3 separate regions of the Homo sapiens genome follow, and regions 2 and 3 are each linked to region 1. Evidence: promoter capture Hi-C in human tissues and cell types (Jung and others, 2019). All regions are on one chromosome and are shown on one strand. Each heading gives the region's core, a stretch centred on a gene start or on the middle of the fragment in contact. The rest is flanking DNA. Distances are from core to core; before and after follow the strand shown.

Region 1 (2,592 bases), core at 63-2,562:
ACGCAGGGGCCTTGTTCATTTTGCCTTTTTCTGGAAACTTTGTCCTCCAATTCCCAGATCCAGAGCAGTGCCTCTGCTCTCAGCCCCATACCGCCCACATTCTCATTAGGAAAAGCAAACAAAAGCCAAAGTCCTGTCCAGTTACAAGCCTTCTCTAAACGGGGCAGTTGGACTGTATATATTCCTGGCGCATCAATTTTACTCAGACAGGGAAAATATTTTTACATTAAAAGAAACTAGGTTAAATTATGGTAGAGAATGCAAAATTCACAGTTTAAAAATGATGAAATTCCAGACTTCAAAGGAACTTCTTTCTTGCAGGGTAGGGGGAGGGTATTCTGTTTCAGAACCCCATGCGGGTCTCCACTGGAGTTCTTTTGAGAAGGACACTTCTGTGGAAAAGTTTGAGCAGCTCTGGCCCTGCGCCTGGCCTGGCTAGGGGCCACCTTCTTCTGGTTTGGGCTGCAGCGCCCTATGGGTATCGCGTTCTTGTTAATATCTCCTCACGTTTCTAAACTCACAGCTTGTCAGCGCGGGCGCAACCTGAGAGCTGTCGCAGGTTTCCAGCTCACTCGTTTCCCAAAGGAGGAAATGGAGAATCAGCGACTTTAAAGGACTTGCCTGGCGGGCATCCACGCTTCCCAGGCTATCGCTCCTCCCTGCGTCCTTGGCCACCTCCGTTCTTTAATCCTGCAGGAACTCAGGACCCACGTGCAAATACAAAGAACCGTATCCACCCACCCCCGGCCCTTCTTCATCCTGCGCTTCCAACCTTGGGGGGGTCCTCTCTCTCCACTGGGGTATCTGACGCCCGTGGGGGGTGCTTAGAAAAGTTTGGTAGATTAGTGACTGGTGGTTCTGGAACAAATACATCACAGCCCAAACTGGGGGCTGGTGGTGGAGAGGTGGGTGGATGGGGGCTACAAATCTGCTCGGCAACTGCCCTTTCAGCCAAGAGAGAGGAGCTGAGGTCCTCTGGGGTTGGAGGACTGGAACCGGCCAGATTGCGGGCTCAAGGGGCGAAGGCAGGTTGGCAGGGGCAGCCTCTTCCCGCCGCCCACAATCCTCGGGCGGGCGCGCAGCCGAGCCGGCTCGGCTGGCTGGCGCAATCTCGCGCGCTCCTTGCATTGATCAAAAATGGGGGTTGAAACAGTAAACGCGAGGAGGAGCAACTGCTTCGACTCGGCTCAGAAGCGCGACCAATGGGGATGTGAGCTCCTTCGCGCGAACCAATTAGCGCAGGGCCTGCGACAGCACGGGCCAATGGGGCGCCGACTCGGCGCAGGAACAAGGCGGGGGTTCGGGGCCGGCTGCAGACTCTCACCGCAGCGGCCAGGAACGCCAGCCGTTCACGCGTTCGGTCCTCCTTGGCTGACTCACCGCCCTGGCCGCCGCACCATGGACGCCCCCAGGCAGGTGGTCAACTTTGGGCCTGGTCCCGCCAAGCTGCCGCACTCAGTAAGTCCCCGCGAGCGGGCGCCGGGAGTGAGGTTCAGGCGGGAGCACGCACGCGGGTGGGTTTGCATCCCTGCGTGTGGCAGTCGGATTCCCGCTCCCTGCCTTGAGTCCCCTAGGCGCTTTGCATCAGCGTGCACAGCGGGATCAGCAGCTCCGGCAAGCGGGCTTCGGGAAGAATGCAGTTGGTGAGGAAGCTCGGCGAGGCGTGCCCGTGCAGCTGCCCCTGGCCCTGACTGCTGGTGCGAGGCAGTGCACGACTCAGCTGGCCGGGGCCTGCTGTCCCGCCGGTGCCACGCACCTGCAGACGCCCGGGCTGTGCCATCTCCTGGGCCGGTCCGGGGGCTGGGGCGGGGCGAAAAAGAAAAAGCTCTGATCTCTGCCTTCGCCTCGCGCAGCTGTGCGGCGAGCCCGGGCAGTGTGGAGCGGATGCATGAATGGACATAGTGTGAATGAGTGATGAACGGGAATGAACCGATGACAGGTTTTGCATATGCAGTGGATCACGTTAGCTGAAAGGGATTGCAAACTTAAAGGTCCGCGTGTGCGTGCCCCCCTACGCCTTACACCAGTGTTTGCTTTAGCCAGCACTTAGGAACACTGCTTTTCAGAAATGTAAATTTGAAAACCTTCAGTCCAGCTTTCCCCTCCTTGTCCCCCATAGAACCTACCCTTTCCTAAAGCCTTTCTCCCCACCCCCCTCCTTTTTTTAACCTGCTTGTCCCCTAAAGGCGTTCGAGTATTCTAACTCTGGTAGACTTTGGGCTGCTTAACCCAATTCCCTGTTCATTTCGTTCTGGAGTAAACCGAGTGATTGAATTCTCTCCCGGGCCACAATCAGATCTTGCTGGTGGAACTCACTCTCTGCCTTCCCAGGCCCCAGCCCGGCTCCTCCCCTCCCCCGCCAAACCCACCGTCCCCAGCCCCACCCGCAGTGAAGAAGGCAAAGTCTCCGATGTGCCTTGAGCCCATTGTCAGGCGGCTGCCGCCGCCGTTAGATTTTTATTTTTCTAACCAGGATAGAGCTGATAATATGTTGGAGCAGCATGAGGCATAGCCAAGTATTTTACAATTATCAATTGTTGAGCAGAGTAGAAATCTCCCTGGGACAGAGCCTCCTCTGTGTTGTGGTAAGAA
Region 2 (2,592 bases), core at 46-2,545, 640 kb after region 1:
CTCCATGTGCCATGCTTACTCTCTGCTTTGTGTTCTTACTGATGCTGGTCTCTTACCCATAAAAAGTGTTTTCCTCTGTAATCTCCCATATTCAGTTAAAGCAGAGTAAGATGCAAATCTGATCTAACTCCTTCATGACACCTGTCCATTTTCCTCTCCTATTGATATCTGTCTACCTGAATTTACATAGCCATTTTCCCTGCATATTTTGACACTTAATTATATATGGCCTTCAATTGTTTACAATTTTCTGATGTTACTGGTGAAATTTACAAGACAAGGGATAGGTTTCTTACATGACCTCAGTTTTGCTCTACAACATAACATGATGATGAGCTTCATCCCCTGTTTGGAGAACTTCAGGTGTCCCCTGTGCAAGTTCTTTGTCTTTGTGAGTGTCAGAGTGTATGTGTGTCAGAGAGAGTTGGGGGTGCTAGGCAGAGAGGTTTAGAAATTTTGTTCTAGTTTTTTCTGTATGTAAGACTATCACTGCACCCAGTTCCTAGAATGAATTTTCCAAGGATTACTTGTTAAATTAACTTTGGTCACCTCAACTGACATTTGAACAAGAACATTATGTGAATGACAAACATGATGTTCTTTTTAAAATGTCATGAGTTACAATCAGAAAGGGTGACAGAGGACAAAAATGGAGCAGTGAACAACAAAGAAACAAGGTGACGATCTGGAAGCAGAAATGCTTCAAATGAGATAAATGGGCTGAAGTAAGCTATTCAGAATTAAGTCTATGATAAGAGACAAAGAACCAGGTCTTTCTTTTTACATAATTCTCGTTAGCAGTTGGACATATAAAGTGTTTGAATCTTAGGTCTTATCCACCTTTGCCACATACCAAAGGCCTAATTATTTATCTTTCACAGAACACAATTTGTGAAATGAAGGTGGTATTTACTGTCCTGCCTATATCAATGTGGTTTTAAATATCCAGTTACGTAACAAACGCACTTCAAAAACTATAAAATCTGCAAATCTGTGGCAGGTGGCATTTTCCAAAGATGGCTGCAGCATCTTCATCCCACGTGACCTTTGGCAGTGTGACCTTGTGTCTTACTCTGTTCAGGCTGCTATAACAAACTATCATAAACTGGGACTGGGAGGAGGGGGGCTTATAAACAACCTGTGTTTATCTCTCACAGTTCTGGAGGCTGAGAAGCACAAGATCAAGGTATTGATACATTAGGTGTCTGGTGAGGGTTCACTTCCTGGTTTGTAGATAACCGTCTTCTTCCTGTGTCCTCACATAATGGAAGAGGCAAGGAAGCTTTCTTAAGTCTCTAAGGGCACCAATTCCACTTACAAGGGTTCCACCCTCATGACCTAATCACCTCCCAAAACCCGATCTCATAACACCATCCTATTGGGCATTAGCATTTAACACAGGAACTCTGGGGGGACACAAGCATTCAGCCTACAGCACCTTGCTAGTCACCCGTCTTGCTATGTCACCCCTAGAATCTGGATGGACTTGTTGATACAAACAACAAAGTATGGCGGATGTGATGCTATGTGACTTTCAAGGCTAGGTCATGAGAGGCAATACAGACTCCACGTTGTTTTCTAGAATTCACTCATGAGGTCCCTGAGCTCCCATGAACTAAGTTCAACTACCCCAGGTTGCCACACTTCGAGGAATCACTGGCCGCGTGGACAGTCAGGGTAGAAGTGCTGACTAAAAATGCCTCTAGATGATACCAGTGTCATCAGTCATTCTTGCCTTCTCAGCTGAGGCTCCAGACTTCATGAAGCAAAGACAAACCACACCCACTGCACCCAGTCCAAGTTCTTGACCCATAGAGTCTTACACCATAATGAAATAGCTGTTTTATGACCTATAATTTGGGATGATGTGTTATGCAGCAAACATAACCAGATAAAAAAAATCGAAGGTATGATCATCATTACCATGATGATGATGATGAATTGACTTATTAGTGGACACACTAATACCAGTTGATTTAATCTCTGACAAAAAGGCAAAGTGAGTGAGTTGGAAGCTACAGTTAGGAATGAAAGGAAATTTGGTATCATCAGTGCTTTTTCAGAGGACTGAGAACGTCTGGGGACATTTAGTGTATAACAAATAAAAAACCCTTTTCCCTAGCATCAGCTGGGATTGTAAAACTCACCTAGATGCTCTGGCCTTGTTCTTCAATAATGAACCTTGGAGAGGGGCTGGCTGCTGCAATCCCCAAGTGCTCTTCTTGTGCCTCTGCCAGACCCATCATCCTGAGCCAGCACATACAAACTGTCGTCCTGATCCAGAGCAGCTGTCTAATTACAATTTTGTTATTATTAATTACAGAGTAGAAAATCATTTGTAATTAGCTCAGCCTAAATCATAGTTTAAACAGCCAAAAATTACATTACAAACTAAAGTGTAATTAAAGCACTACACTAAAGTGTTTATTTAAACCCAGTTTAGTTACTTGCAAATTTTTCAATCAGCTTCTCAGGCTCATACATAGATTTAATTAGTCTCCAGTACTGACAGTTTAGTGCATTTATTCATTAAGCATCAATATTGCTGAACAAATGTAAATAAAATATAGACAGAGATGCTTTAAAGGGGCA
Region 3 (2,592 bases), core at 32-2,531, 530 kb after region 1:
CTCATAAAAATAAAATTTCTAGGTCAAATGGCATGCAAAAATGTTTGTTCATTATTTCCAAGCATTTCTTCAGAAAGATGGTAACTATTTACACTTCCCACAGCAATATAACACTCTTGAGTAAATTTTTTAAAATGCCAGTATGGCAGGTAAAAAAAAGCATATCACTGTTTTCATAATAATTTCTTTGATTATTAATGAGGTTTAACATTTTAAAATACATTTTGCCTTGTCTAATTGTTATAATGGGGCATTCATATTTTCTTATTGATTTGTAAAAGCCCTATATGTATTCCTCTTATTCTATCACTTCTGCTGTGAGTATTGTCATTAGTACTTTGTCTTCAATCTTGTTCATAACTTAGTTTATTTTTATGTCCAGAGAGTTTATATTTTTATGCACAGAAGTCACATCTACTAATATTTTGTTTACATATATATTTTCCATTGGTGCTATGCTTGGGAAGTCTTCCTCCAGTTCAAACTTCTGACATATGGAATTCAAAAAGGGAGCAAGGCCAGGCGCAGTGGCTCACGCCTGTAATCCCAGGCTGAGGATTTGGGAGGCTGAGGTGGGCGGATCACGAGGGCAGGAGATTGAGACCATCCTGGCTAACATGGTGAAACCCCGTCTCTACTAAAAACACAAAAAATTAGCTGGGCATGGTGGCACGTGCCTGTAGTCCCACCTACTTGGGAAGCTGAGGCAGGAGAATGGCGTGAACCCAGGAGGCGGAGCTTACAGTGAGCAGGGGTCGTGCCACTGCACTCCAGCCTGGGCGACAGAGTGAGACTCTGTCTCAAAATAATAATAATAATAATTATTTTTTAAAAAAGGAGCAGATGATCTTCTATTATTTGCATCACTTTTGTCATCTCAGTAATCATTTGTAAGTGTGGAGGCAAGCATTTCGGCAAGGATATTCAGGTGGTCATCTTGAAACGAAAGTCTGTTCTGGTTTTCAGCAGAGCACTTTACACACTTGAATCTTTCTTTCTAAAATCAAAAGTTAATTCCATTGAATTAGACAGGATTAGGAAAAGGTGTTTAGGTATTTTCATGCTGCCCAGGCTTGTTCCCTACTCACATCAGTGTTTGTTGGCCTTCAGTGTAGGAAGGAGCTAGACGTAGTGAGAGAGCAGAAGAGGGAGGCAGGTGGCAGCCAGATGGGTACACTGGCCATGGAGCCAGCACAGGCCAGGAACAATCAGCTCTAAATAACTCTCTGTTGCTCTGCCTCTTTGATTTATTCTTCGAGGTCCACTCAAGTTTTATATCTCAGCTTTTCCATCCCATGTTGATTGCTTGATTCTCTAAACAGTTGAAGGCGTTAGTATTTTCATTACTATCCATCCAATTTAGTTCTTTTCACATAGTCTCGAAAATATAGCTTCTATCTAGTTTTATTTTACTATCCAGTATAGAGCTTAAAATATGTACTTAGCTTTCCTTACAATATTTCAAGCTTCCTAATATAATTTTTCTTTTTTTTTTAAACAAAATCTCACTCTGTTGACCAGGCTGGAGGACAGTGGTGTGATCTTGGTTCACTGCAACCTCTGCCTCCTGGGTTCAAGTGATTCTCCTGCCCCAGCCTCCCGAGTAGCTGGGATTACAGGCACATGCCACCACGTCCGGCTAATTTTTGTATTTTTAGTAAAGATGGGGTTTTGCCCTGTTGGCCAGGCTGGTCTCGAACTCCTGACTTCAGGTGATCTGCCTGCCTCGGTCTCCCAAATTACTGGGATTATAGTCATGAACTACCACACCCCACCTACTTCCTAATATAATTTAGTCCTAGCTCAAAGCATGGGCTCTGATTTGAACATGGAGACTCACCTTGGCATGAAATAAAATACGTGATGACTACTAACATGTACCTAACCAAGTATAGTTGGGGTTTAAGGGATTGTCTGGTTTAAAAAATACACACCAAATCTTTCTCTTTTTTACAAAAGGGACACACACACACACACACACACACACACACACACAGGCTATATATGAAGATATACAGCCACTATAGTTCTGCCAGAATATGTAAAGTTGATAAAGACTCTGGGCTTGAGTCAGAGGAACTCAGCTTGAATCGCAGCTCTGCCACTTACCAGCTATGTGAGTGTGAGCCTCAGTTTCTACATCTGGGAAATGGGGATAGTATATCACCTTCCTCTGAAAGTTGAATTAATACATAATCCAGTTCAATCTGAGTTTCCCTGAGGTGCATCGAAAGAAGGTGATTTAATTCTTTAGACAGCACTTCAAGATTTAACTGAATTTCCCTTATAACTCAAGTCATAATTGTTAATCTGGTAGCAAACTGGTAAACAAATTGTAACCCAACAACTAGAAAACCCCAGTTCAGTCATTACTGGAGCTGATTTATTTTATGAATTGTTTCACAGTTGAGTTGTTGGTTTTTATCCCAACTTAATCTGTACACATTATTAAATTTGTAATGAGTGAGCTTGTGGCACACCTGGCAAGAGGAAAAAGGCCCAGTTCTACTTCTTTATGCCTAACCTCGCCATGAAGTTTTCCAGCGGGTGCAGCAGTGTTGTTTTGAGTCTTAATGTTGAGCCATGTGCACC

The links. Contacts are between HindIII fragments. The study calls those that stand out against the background at their distance.
Region 2: a contact is called between a fragment that was not itself captured here and the fragment with the promoter of PSAT1 in region 1, in 1 of the 25 tissues and cell types used here (stomach).
Region 3: a contact is called between a fragment that was not itself captured here and the fragment with the promoter of PSAT1 in region 1, in 1 of the 25 tissues and cell types used here (psoas muscle).

The regions. Positions count from the first base shown.
Region 1 is chr9:78,295,813-78,298,404 of GRCh38, forward strand. It overlaps PSAT1 (phosphoserine aminotransferase 1), which reads left to right and starts at 1,313. Exons shown (of 9, transcript NM_058179.4): 1 at 1,313-1,458. The coding sequence starts at 1,399. RefSeq lists enhancers at 399-668, 559-1,142, 1,143-1,726 and a silencer at 1,679-1,918. The HindIII fragment of the contact is 7,295 bases long and covers 1-2,592 here.
Region 2 is chr9:78,937,248-78,939,839 of GRCh38, forward strand. No RefSeq gene overlaps it. Among named protein-coding and RNA genes, the nearest start is that of LNCARSR, 630 kb to the right of the region's middle. The HindIII fragment of the contact is 3,926 bases long and covers 1-2,592 here.
Region 3 is chr9:78,825,573-78,828,164 of GRCh38, forward strand. No RefSeq gene overlaps it. Among named protein-coding and RNA genes, the nearest start is that of PSAT1, 530 kb to the left of the region's middle. The HindIII fragment of the contact is 3,859 bases long and covers 1-2,592 here.